Regions from separate parts of the Homo sapiens genome. Here region 2 is linked to region 1. Evidence: promoter capture Hi-C in 16 types of primary human blood cells and fetal thymus (Javierre and others, 2016). All regions are on one chromosome and are shown on one strand. The core of a region is centred on a gene start or on the middle of the fragment in contact, and the rest is flanking DNA. Distances in the headings are between cores, read along the strand shown. Region 1 holds the start of MAGI1 (membrane associated guanylate kinase, WW and PDZ domain containing 1). Region 2 overlaps MAGI1 (membrane associated guanylate kinase, WW and PDZ domain containing 1).

Region 1 (5,331 bases), core at 1,496-3,995:
TTTGGGGCTTTTCCACATCTAAAACCTGACGTATGCTAAATTCCAAGTTCTTTCCTTTCTCAGCTGCTGTGGTGACACCTGGAATCCTGGCAAGAGGGGGATGTTGTTGCATTGGGAGGAATCACAAAACGCCTGGTCTTGTCCAGCCCTTGGACTCCCCCAGGCAGAGGTGAGAGTTGAGTGGAGAGGTAGGGGACTCCTAATTCAAGGTTGGTTGTGGGTATTCTTAGCAAACAATTACACTTTACTAGAATATGAAGTGGCAAAGTGGGGAAACACACAAGGCTAAGCTTACTAAGCTTACTAATGATTTGCAGGGGAATCTGTGACTCCCCACTAACATGGAAAGTAAAAATGTACATTTTTGTGGAAAGAGTCATTTGACAAATATTTTAGCATTTGCTAGTACGAGGCACCATTCTAGGAACTGGGAATAATACATCAGTAAACCAAACTGTCAAAGTGTCCTGACCTCCTTGAGTTTTTATTTTACACAGAGATGTGGATCACAGGTTTATTTGACAAAAAGGTCTGGGACCCAAACAATGCTTTGGAATCAAGATACTAAACCTATGGTGCTCAGCGTTGTGTACCAACAACACATAAGGGGAACCTTAAAAGTTCAAATGACTTAGCCCTTCCTTGACATTCTGATTGGCTGGATCTGTGCTCGGGTTTGATAATTTATGTTTTGAAGTGCTGTTCATATTGACCTAGATTGCTTCTGAAAAAAAGCTGGAGACAAAGTTCCTCTCACCAAGCAAAGCCATGGAAAATTGGTCACCTCCTTTTTTCAGAAACACAACAATGCAATGGGATTTTCAGTTCTGGATATCCCAAGAGAGAAGCATCAACATCCCTCCTTACTTTTATTAGCTTAGAATAGCACCCTACAATGCTTTAAAAGGATGTTTAAACGTATGCCTAAACCAGGTATGGTGGCTCACATCTATAACCCCAGCACTTTGGGAAGCTGAGTCAGGAGGTTGGCTTGAGCCCAGGAGTTTGAGACCAGCCTGGGCAATCAACATAGGGAGACCCCCCCATGTCTACAAAAAATCAAAAAAATAAAACTAGCTGGGCATGGTGGCATGTGCCTATAATTCCAGATACTCAGGAGGCTGAGGTGGTAGGATTGCTTGAGTCCAGAAGTTCGAGGTTACAATCAGCTAGTCGAGCTACTGCACTCCAGCTTGGGGACAAAGCAAGACCACGTTTCTAAAAACACCACCACCACCATCAAAAAACAAACACACAAAGTATGCCCATATTTTCTAAGTTCTAGAAAGGAGAGGATAAATTATCATACTTACTAACTTGAATCCCCAAATGATTTCCCAATTTTCTTCCCAAATAGTAATACTACTATTAAGAATATAATGAGTTTTTATTATTTGCCACTTTATAAGTGTTTTCCCACGTAATACTTCCAAGAACCCTGTGAGGTCTTGTTCTACTTATTTGATCAGCGAGAAACGGAGGCGCGGAGGTCACCAAGCTTGCTCAAGGTCACACAAGGGTGGACCCCTGAGCCTACCTCTCAACCTCGACTGCTGTGTCCATCCTTTCTTCATCGTTTCAACGTACCCCCCTCATTTCTTGGAATCTCTCCTGTGACCAAAGATGAACAAAATTATACATCACTAAAGAGGAAAACAAACTGCTGGGGAGACTACTCAGCAGCCTGATTTGAGGAGTATTTGGGAAGGGCAGCCTTCCTGTGGTATGGGAGTCTTTCTGTCCGCCACCTCGCCGGGACAGAAGTCACTCCATCCGCACCCCCGGGCGACCTCCGGAGGCCGCAGCTACCCCCGGGCTGCGAATTCCGAGTTCTCTCACGCCCCCGCGGGCGCCAGGACGCAGGGCATGTCCGCGCCCGGCGGGGATCCTTATCTCCTGGCCCCGGAGTAGGTCCGCAGGCTTCTCGGCCCTGCCAGGAACTTGAGGCCGGGGCAGATGATTGACTGGGTCCAGCAGTCTCTGCTGGCAGGGCAGTTGAAAAGCTAGAGGGATCTCTTTTTTGGTTGAATACCTGAACCCACACTAGCACCATGGCTTCTCTCTCTTGCCTGTAGTTTCCCGTGTCCTAAAAAGTTGGTCCCAAAGTTTAAGGATGCGGGTGTGTGTAAGAGCGCGTGTGACCCGCACAGGGATCCCAGTTGGGGAACCGGAGGATCCCACCGTCCCCCTCCCCCGGGTCGCAGAGACCCTGGCAGACCCCGCGCCAGGACCCGAACCCGCAAGCGCAGGGCAGGCAGGGAGGCGGCGAGCGCCCCGGGGCGGGTCTCGGGGGTTTCAGTGGGACCTGCGGCAAGGGGGGCGGCGAACCAGCCGGGCTGGGTGACCGACAGCCTGGCCAGCCACTGGCCGAGGGCGGTTAGGAGGCTTAGGGCCGGCGCGAGTGCGTGCGCGTGTGCGTGAGTGTGAGCGCCAGGGTGAGTGTGGCAGCCTCCCCAACCCCCACCTGTTTGAAATGGTTTTCAAATGCCAAAGCCAGATTGCCCGGGTTTCAAAAGTTGCAAACAGTTGGAGTAAAACACGTGTGCGGCCCTCCAGCCCCAAAGGAATCCGCGGAGTCCAGGGCACTGAAAGAAAAGGAGAGAGGATAGGGGTTCAGGAAGGGTTGGGGGGGAGTTGCCTTCTCCCGGCAGGTCGGTTTTAGGACCCATCGGGAAGCACGTTGGAATCTCTCCCTTCGGGGAGGAGGGGAGGGGTGGGCCGGCCGGCTGGCGGCCGCGGGGCGCATGCGCGCGCGTCTCCTGTCGCCGGCCGCTGCGCTCCGCGGCGCGGAATAGAATGAACTGTAACAAAACAAGCCGAGCCTTTGTATCTGCTTAAAGGGGCCGCGAGCACTTACCTCCCGCCCTGCTCCCCGCCGCCCCGCCACCGCGTCTTCAGGGCTCCCGGCAACTGGCTGGAAGGGCTTCCCTCACCCTCAGTAACAGCCTGCCAGCGAGGAGAGGCGAGCCGGGCGGGAGGCAAAGAGGAGGCACCGCATTTGTAAAAGGCAAGAGAGAAAGGAAGGAAGGAAAAAAAAATAACCCGAGCGGCGCAGAGTGGACTCTGGTCCGGGAGAGCACGGGCGGGCGCCGGAACGTGGACCCAGAGGCACCGGAATGCAAACAAAGCTCGCGGGCGCCTGTGCGGGGCTCGCGGGGAAGCCCAGAAAGTTTGTTTTATGATGGCTTGAGTGCGCGAGCGTGTGCAGGGGAGCGAGGCTGCCAAGTTTCTCTCTCCTGTTTTGTGATTTGGGGAGAGATGTTTCTCCCATGAACAAGCGGAGGCTTGGGGGCTCGTGCTGTGGGGGGCACCTGTCTCTCGTTTTATTTTTTTGGAGGAGGGGTGTAACTCATCATGTCCAAAGTGATCCAGAAGAAGAACCACTGGACTAGCAGGGTTCACGAATGCACCGTGAAGCGGGGACCCCAGGGCGAGCTGGGGGTGACGGTGCTGGGAGGCGCGGAGCACGGGGAGTTTCCGTACGTCGGAGCGGTGGCGGCGGTCGAGGCAGCGGGGCTTCCCGGCGGCGGCGAGGGCCCGAGGCTGGGCGAAGGGGAGCTGCTTCTGGAGGTGCAGGGGGTCCGGGTGTCCGGCTTGCCCCGCTATGACGTGCTGGGGGTCATCGACAGCTGCAAGGAGGCCGTCACCTTCAAGGCCGTCAGACAAGGTAAGGCAGGGCGCGCCTTTGGGGGGCGCCCCGAGAAAAGGAGGGTGGTCTGTGGGCTGCCCCTTATTCTCGATTTCCTGCTTCCCTCCTCGGAGCGCAGTGAAGAGAAGTTGAGGCCGTGCGCCCTGTGGTGGCGGTGAAATACACAAAGTTGTTGCGAGGTTGAGGGTTGTTTGCCCACCTGCGTTTCGAAGAGGGGGCTGGGTTTGCGCAAGGTAGCGGGGGGACGTTTCTCAGGCCTGGCTGGCCAACCTGTTATCTCCGCCACTAAGTGCAGCGCAGTCTCGCCTGCACCCGAGAGAGAGTTGGGGAACTGAGTCAGGGGCATGGTGGACGCTGTCCTGGCTCCTTGGGGGAGGGATGCAGCTGGCGTTCTTTGGCCACGAGTCAGTTTCCATACCTGCTGAGTGGGTATACAGAAAGAGAGGGTCTGTAGTTTATTGGACCTCCCCCATCAGAAAATCTGCTTCACCCCGCGACCCCTCCAGGTGAGCTAGGACACCACTGCCTGGCGGTTCCTGAGCCCGCCGCCAGAAGAGCCTGCATTCACCCCTCAGCCGGATGACGCATGTGTCTCCACCGTGTGGCTCAGCCATACACTTGGGAGGGGGAGAGGGGGAAGGGGTGCTTGCTTTTAGCTCGAATCGGGTCCAAGTTTACCCTCCCACCACCACCATCATCGTCATTATTGATGATGAAAATGAAGCTACTATTCATTGTTGGTTTACTACATGCCCGGCTCTGTGTAAAATACTTTACTTGCACTATCTCACTCCGATTCACAACAGTTCTAAGAACGAGTTGTTCTTATTTATATACCCCAAATTAGAGATAAGGAAACTGGGATTGATACTGGTTAAGTGACTTGCTCAAGGTCACACAGTTGCCAAAAGCGAGGGTTTGAGCCCTTGCTGCAGAGCCTTAAGTATGGAGGAGGAAGGAGTGGGGGGATGACCCTACCGCACTGAAGGGGCTGATTCCTGAGGAGGGAGTGGAAGCAAATTCCTCTCTCAGAAATCTGTAGAGGCCTTTTAAAAGATGCATTTGCTGGCTGCTGGTGATGTAGGTCCCTTACATCTCACTTTGGTACAGACAAGGGGCTGTCCTCATGTCAACCCAATGGAGACCAGCTGAGGCCCTTAAAGGGCTCCCTTGTGCAAGCAAGTGCCATGACGCAGGTTCTCCCCAGTGAAAGCACCGAAGGAAGTCGTGAAGTTGAACATGGTGAAAAGTTCCCATGTGTTTCCATAAGGACAGGCAGCAGCTGGAGGAATGTGTCAAAGGAAGGGCTGGGCCTAGCTGGTCCTCTCTTGGAAACAGGCGTGCTCCAGATGAAATGGAGGAGGGGGCGGCCGACTCGCCTGGCCTTTTAGCAGCTTTGGGAGCTGAGGAGCTGACACTTAGCTATGGAAAGCTCCTTGTATTTATGACTTCATTCTCCACTGGGATACCTCCTCCAAGAAGCCCTCCAGAATCCTGCTAGGATGCACAAATTCTTCCTCCTTTGGGCTCCTTTAATGTCTACTTTGTGGCTTTTTTACTTACTCTGAACTCTGAGTTAGGTCCTCATTTCCATACAAGGTAGTGAGCTCATTAAAGGGAGAGATTGTGCCTCATTCCTGGCATACCTCTCCAGGTTTTGCTTGAGGTTCAAAACCTTTCCT
Region 2 (5,331 bases), core at 825-3,324, 270 kb after region 1:
CGCCTCTGAAAATGCTGGGATTACAGGTGTGGGCTACTGTGTTTGACCAGAAACCACTGTTAAAAAGAACTATATAGTATCACCTTTCATAATCATAGTTAATACTTTGGTGTATGTAACTGCACATTTTTTGTCTGCATATCCATTCACATAATGGACTATGTTTTCTTTAAGATGCTTTTTTTTTTTTTTTTTTTTTTTTTTGGCAGAGTGGGTGAGAAGAGAAAAAAACACTTAAAAAAATTTTTTTTTTTTTTCCAGAGAAGGTCTCACTCTGTTGCCCAGGCTGGAGTGCAATGGCACAATCTAGGCTTACTGGAACCTCCAAGTCCTAGGCTCAAATGATACTCCTGCCTCAGTCTCCCAAGTAGCTGATACTACAGGCATGTATGACAATGCCTGGCAAATTTTTTTGTATTTTTTTGTTGAGATGGGGTTTTGCCATGTTGCCCAGGCTGGTCTGAAACTCCTGGACTCAAGGAATCTATCTGTCTTGGCCTCAGAAAGTGCTGGGATTACAGGTGGGAGTCACCACGCCCAGCCTGAAAATACTTTGTTATATTCATAGGATTTCAGAAATTTTAGAATTAAAAAAATGCATTTGAGATCAATCAGTCTGTAGGTTACATTCATGTGGCTCTTTGGGTTGATAAGAATGATGATGATAATAAAAATAGCCAATATTTATTGAGCTCTTATTGTATGCTGGGTACTATGAAATTCATATACATTGTCTTGTTTCACTACTATCCCATGATGTTGACAACATTTTTATCCTAACTTTATAACTGAAGCTTAGAAAGGCTAAGTAATTGACTCATGTAGCTATCAATAGTGAAGACAGAAATCAAAATCTTCTCCCTATTGCCTAAGGCGAGTTAGTGTATCTTAGAACCCCTTGTTAGGCACAGAACATAGGCCCAGTACTAGTTGGCTCTTTGGTTGAATTTCTTGTTTTCCTCTTACTTAAAAATCACTTGTGATCTATATGTTCCATGTACTTGTTCATCACCAAATAGGAAAACATTTTGTGTATGCCATTTCTCTTAGGCAAGCAGATGTGAAATGTCAGGGTTAAGAATGGGTGCACAGTATATCCATAAACTATGTGAACAAAAGCTTGGTAGACTCTGAGTTTTTAGGGGACACAAGCCAACAGGATTATAAGGAAAGTATGAAAGCACTTATTATGAATTCTTTTCCACCAAAACCTGGACATTCAAAATAAGGAGAATTTTGCCCCAGGAAGATTTTGAATATATAACAAACATGGACTTCAGAAACTAATTATCCAAGAGGGATACAGGACACAATTTTTGCTCATTTCAAATACATTTTCAATAAATTCATGGGTGAAAAACATCACAGGAAGATGGTGGAGACAACAGTGGTATTAAGATAAGTATCTTCCACGCCTTTGACAGTAACATCAAAGATGATAACTACCATTTCACCCTGCTCAGGACTTCTTTGCTTGTGTAAAACAGAATTTTGGTTTAGCCGGAATTATATGTCAGTTATAGAAACTCATAACCAGGAAAAGTTTCACCCAATGTTAGAACAAAACCTTATTGTTAGCAATTAATTTTTTTTTTTTTTTAACTAGCCAGTGGATCTGGGGCTATGGAAACAGATGCCCATGTGCCACTTAGTTACTGGGATGGTTAGCATTATGGGAATCTGTAGTGTGTAATTTCTGTAATAAACCTGTTTATCCTTTGGAATTTTTTTCTCTTCCTGTGAAGTTTCCTTCATATCGTTCCCGGGAAGAAATTGTTCTAATTTGTACCTTGTTCAGCAACCACAAGTAACTTGTATTAAAAGGAAAACACAATGAGATATAAAAATTTTAATCTTTATATCGAATTAAAAAAGTCATTAAAATGAAAGACTCAAGTATGATTAAGGCATAAACACTCGAATCAAGGCAGTCTGAGACACAAAGAAAGCAAATTAGAGTACAGTTACATTTTCCTTCTGAATTCACCATGTTCTCCAGAAGGTAGGCTTGTGAACTTCCAGATGATAAACAAGGAGACTGTAACTTAGAATTCCAAGGCATATACATTAGCATCACAGCCAGACAATCCGAGTGATATGGATAGACCTTATGCTAGTGTATTCTGAGTTTACCTACCAGTGATCCCACCCCCACTCTTTTTTGTCTTTTTTTTGAGACAGTGTCTTGCTCTGTTGCATAGGCTGGAGTGCAGTGGCCCCATCATAGCTCACTGCAAACTCCACCTCCCAGGCTCAAGTGATCTTCCTGCCTCAGCCACCTGAGTAGCTGGGACTACAGGCATGCACTGCCATGCCTGACTAATTTTTTAATTTTTTATGGAGATGAGGTTTCACTGTGTTGACTAGACCAGTCTTGAACTCCTGGGCTCAAGTGATCTTCCTGCCTCAGCTTTCCAAAGTGCTTGGATTACAGGTGTGAGCCATGGTGCCCGACCCCCTACTCTTAAGGTTGTTAATCTTTTGGGGGTGTTGGCTGTTGTTTTAATATATTACTCCTACATCATAGTGATTCAGGGTTGGTGAGAACTTGAGAGCTCTTTTTCTACTCTGTCAGGTACTTTTATGAATACTTTACATATATGATTTCATTTATTTCTTACAACAGTCCTGCCAGGCAGGTAGAGTTTTTTTGCCATTTACCAGATGAGGAAACTGGTCCGTGGTAGATCAAAGAGGACGCTGGTGTGAGGTGGAGTCTGTATCTTCACCCAGTTCTGCAGACCTCATGACCTCTGTGCTTCCTGGTAACTTTCATCTGGTAGTCTTTCAATTCTTGCCTCCTCCCATTGCTTCCCCTCCTTAAATTCACATGCTGTTAATTGCTTTCTGTGCATCTTTTCTGTCATTTGTAAATGCAAGAAATTCTCATCAGCCTGTGCAGTAATCAGGAACTGGGTCGTAAAACCAGGTCCCTGGAAACATGTCTTGTCCCAAACTTAGACTCATTTACCTGCAATACTGCCCTCAGTGAGCCTGAAGTTTGTTAGCTTCCTGATTTATGAAGCTTATCCTTATGCTGTCTCGTTTTCCTTTTCTCTGCTCCCTGTTTGCTTCCTCTGTGTTTGCTTCACTCTCACGAAGTGTTCTCCATGTGGCAGCTCCTGGCCTACTTCCTTCTTATGGCTGCTGATCCCAGGGAAAGAGGTGTCCCTCCCTTGTAGCACCATGATCATTCTCTGCAGAGAACTCAGTTGGCTCAGTTAGGTCTTTTGCCTACATTGGTGGTGATTGGCCATCCCAGGTCCCATGCCCACTCCTGTGGTGAAAAAGCCAGGGTCTCATGATGGACAGCTGTACTCAAGTCCCCCCTGAATCAGTGCAGAAGAGACAAAGAAGGAATGGCTTTTCTCTATGGTCTGACAATGTTAACAGGGAGACACAGGTTCATAAAGTCTCTGTTTTGATGAGGAAAGAGGAAATTGGCCCCTACAAGGAAGGGATTGGGCCTAATAGGTTATATTGTTGTCTTTTTTTTCTTTTTCTTTTTCTTGAGACGGAGTCTTGCTCTGTCGCTCAAGCTGGAGTGCAGTGGCATGATCTCAGTTCACTGCAACCTCCGCCTCCCAGGTTCAAACGATTCTCCTGCCTCACCCTCTCCCTGGGATTACAGGCACCCACCACCAAGTCTGGCAAATTTTTGTATTTTTAGTAGAGACAGGGTTTCACCATCTTGGCCGGGCTTGTCTTGAACTCCTGACCTTGTGATCCACCCGCCTCGGCCTCCCAAAGTGCTGGGATTATAGGCGTGAGCCACCGCGCCTGGCCAGGTTATAAAAGATGCCACAGTATTCTTTTAAAATAGTCAAACCATAAATTAAGGTCTTACATGATCTAGCCTCATAGAATGGACTTCAGACTCCAACTAGTCCCTGCTTCTCATAGCATGCTCCATACAGCACTGGGGATTCCTGGGTTAGGCTGAAGGAGAGTCAAATAATGATGAGGCTTATTGAATAAAATTAAATCCATTAGATTTTGTTTTTTATTAAAGGTTTCAAAATTTTTTGTGCTGACTAGCTTATTTGCTTTCTAATGCTAGCAGAACATAAAACATTATAAGCTAAATAGCAAATAACTATTAATCACATTTGGAGAAGGCTGGTTATACCTTATTTTGATAGCTAGTTTTAAACAAATTGCAGACATGTAAACTGTGGTTGTGCTTTTATATTACACAGTTATAAAATTTTCTTTATTTATGATGAAATAAAATATCTCTATGTTTCCCTGTGTTCTGTAAAGAGATACTCACTTGCCCATGGTGCTATACTACCTGAAATAATTAAGAAACACCTTTAGGACTTTCCACCTCATATTCACCTACTATCTGAGCTGATATTTGCTGAGTAATCGTCTTCTTTTTTTTTTTTTGAGACATTGAGACAGATTCACTGTCTGTCACCCAGGCTGGAGTGCAGTGGTGCAATCTCGGCTCACTGCAACCTCTGCCTCCTGGGTTCAAGCGATTCTTCTGCCTTAGCCTCCTGAGTAGCTGGGACTACAGGTGCATGCCACCATGCCTGGCTAATTTTTGTGTTTTTAATAGAGACGGGGTTTCGCTATGTTGGCCAGGCTGGTCTCGAACTCCTGGCCTCAGGTGATCTGCCCGCCTTGGCCTCCCAAAGCGCTGGGATTACAGGTGTAATCTGTAATACCACACCCTGCCCAGTAATCTTCTTTAAAAATAAAATAATTTGCTGGGCGTAGTGGCTTGCGTTTGTAATCCCAGCACTTTGGGAGGCCGAGGTGGGTGGATCACGAGGTTAGGAGATCAAGACCATCCTGGCCAACATGGGAAAACCCCGTCTCTACTAAAAATAGAAAAACAAATTAGCTAGGCATTGTGGCACATGCCTGTAGTCCCAGCTACTTGGGAGGCTGAGGCAGGAGAATAGCTTGAACCAGGGAGTCAGAGGTTGCAGTGAGCTGAGATTGTGCCACTGCACTCCAGCCTGGTGACAGAGCGAGACTCCACTTCAAAATAAATAAGTAAATAAATGAATAATAATTTACTAAAAAAGGATACGCCTATATGCAAACATCTAATATTTTTCTAATGCTCACATTACCTATTAAAAGCATCTTTCATACCTGTCCCTCAGCTCTCATGGTTTGTGAGTCATACTTTGAGAAACACTTGAGGCACACAGGTATCATTTACACAAGAGTAAACTGAGGCATGTAGAGTACCTTGCCCCTATTAAGGGTTGCTGGACATTATCAGAACAAGAGCTGGCCAGTGGGTTTCCTCGTGTCAGTTTCTTCCTGCACGTGGCAGGATGGATGGGAGCTTAAATCACCAATGCCCTA

Evidence for each region. The method cuts DNA at HindIII sites, captures the fragments that hold promoters and counts their contacts. A CHiCAGO score of 5 or more calls a contact.
Region 2: a contact is called between a fragment that was not itself captured here and the fragment with the promoter of MAGI1 in region 1, in 1 of 17 cell types (endothelial precursors). The highest score is 6.0, in endothelial precursors.

Annotation. Positions count from the first base shown.
Region 1 is chr3:66,036,332-66,041,662 of GRCh38, reverse strand. It overlaps MAGI1 (membrane associated guanylate kinase, WW and PDZ domain containing 1), which reads left to right and starts at 2,745. Exons shown (of 23, transcript NM_001033057.2): 1 at 2,745-3,667. The coding sequence starts at 3,355. It overlaps LOC105377128 (a long non-coding RNA gene), which reads right to left and starts at 2,710. Exons shown (of 2, transcript XR_001740440.2): 1 at 2,465-2,710; 2 at 1,369-1,611. RefSeq lists a silencer at 2,658-2,777 and enhancers at 3,730-4,557, 4,558-5,331. The HindIII fragment of the contact is 5,984 bases long and covers 1,501-5,331 here.
Region 2 is chr3:65,770,376-65,775,706 of GRCh38, reverse strand. All of the region lies in intron 1 of MAGI1 (membrane associated guanylate kinase, WW and PDZ domain containing 1), which reads left to right. The region is part of intron 1 of LOC107986018 (a long non-coding RNA gene); the gene reads left to right. Among named protein-coding and RNA genes, the nearest start is that of MAGI1-AS1, 120 kb to the left of the region's middle. The HindIII fragment of the contact is 1,906 bases long and covers 1,122-3,027 here.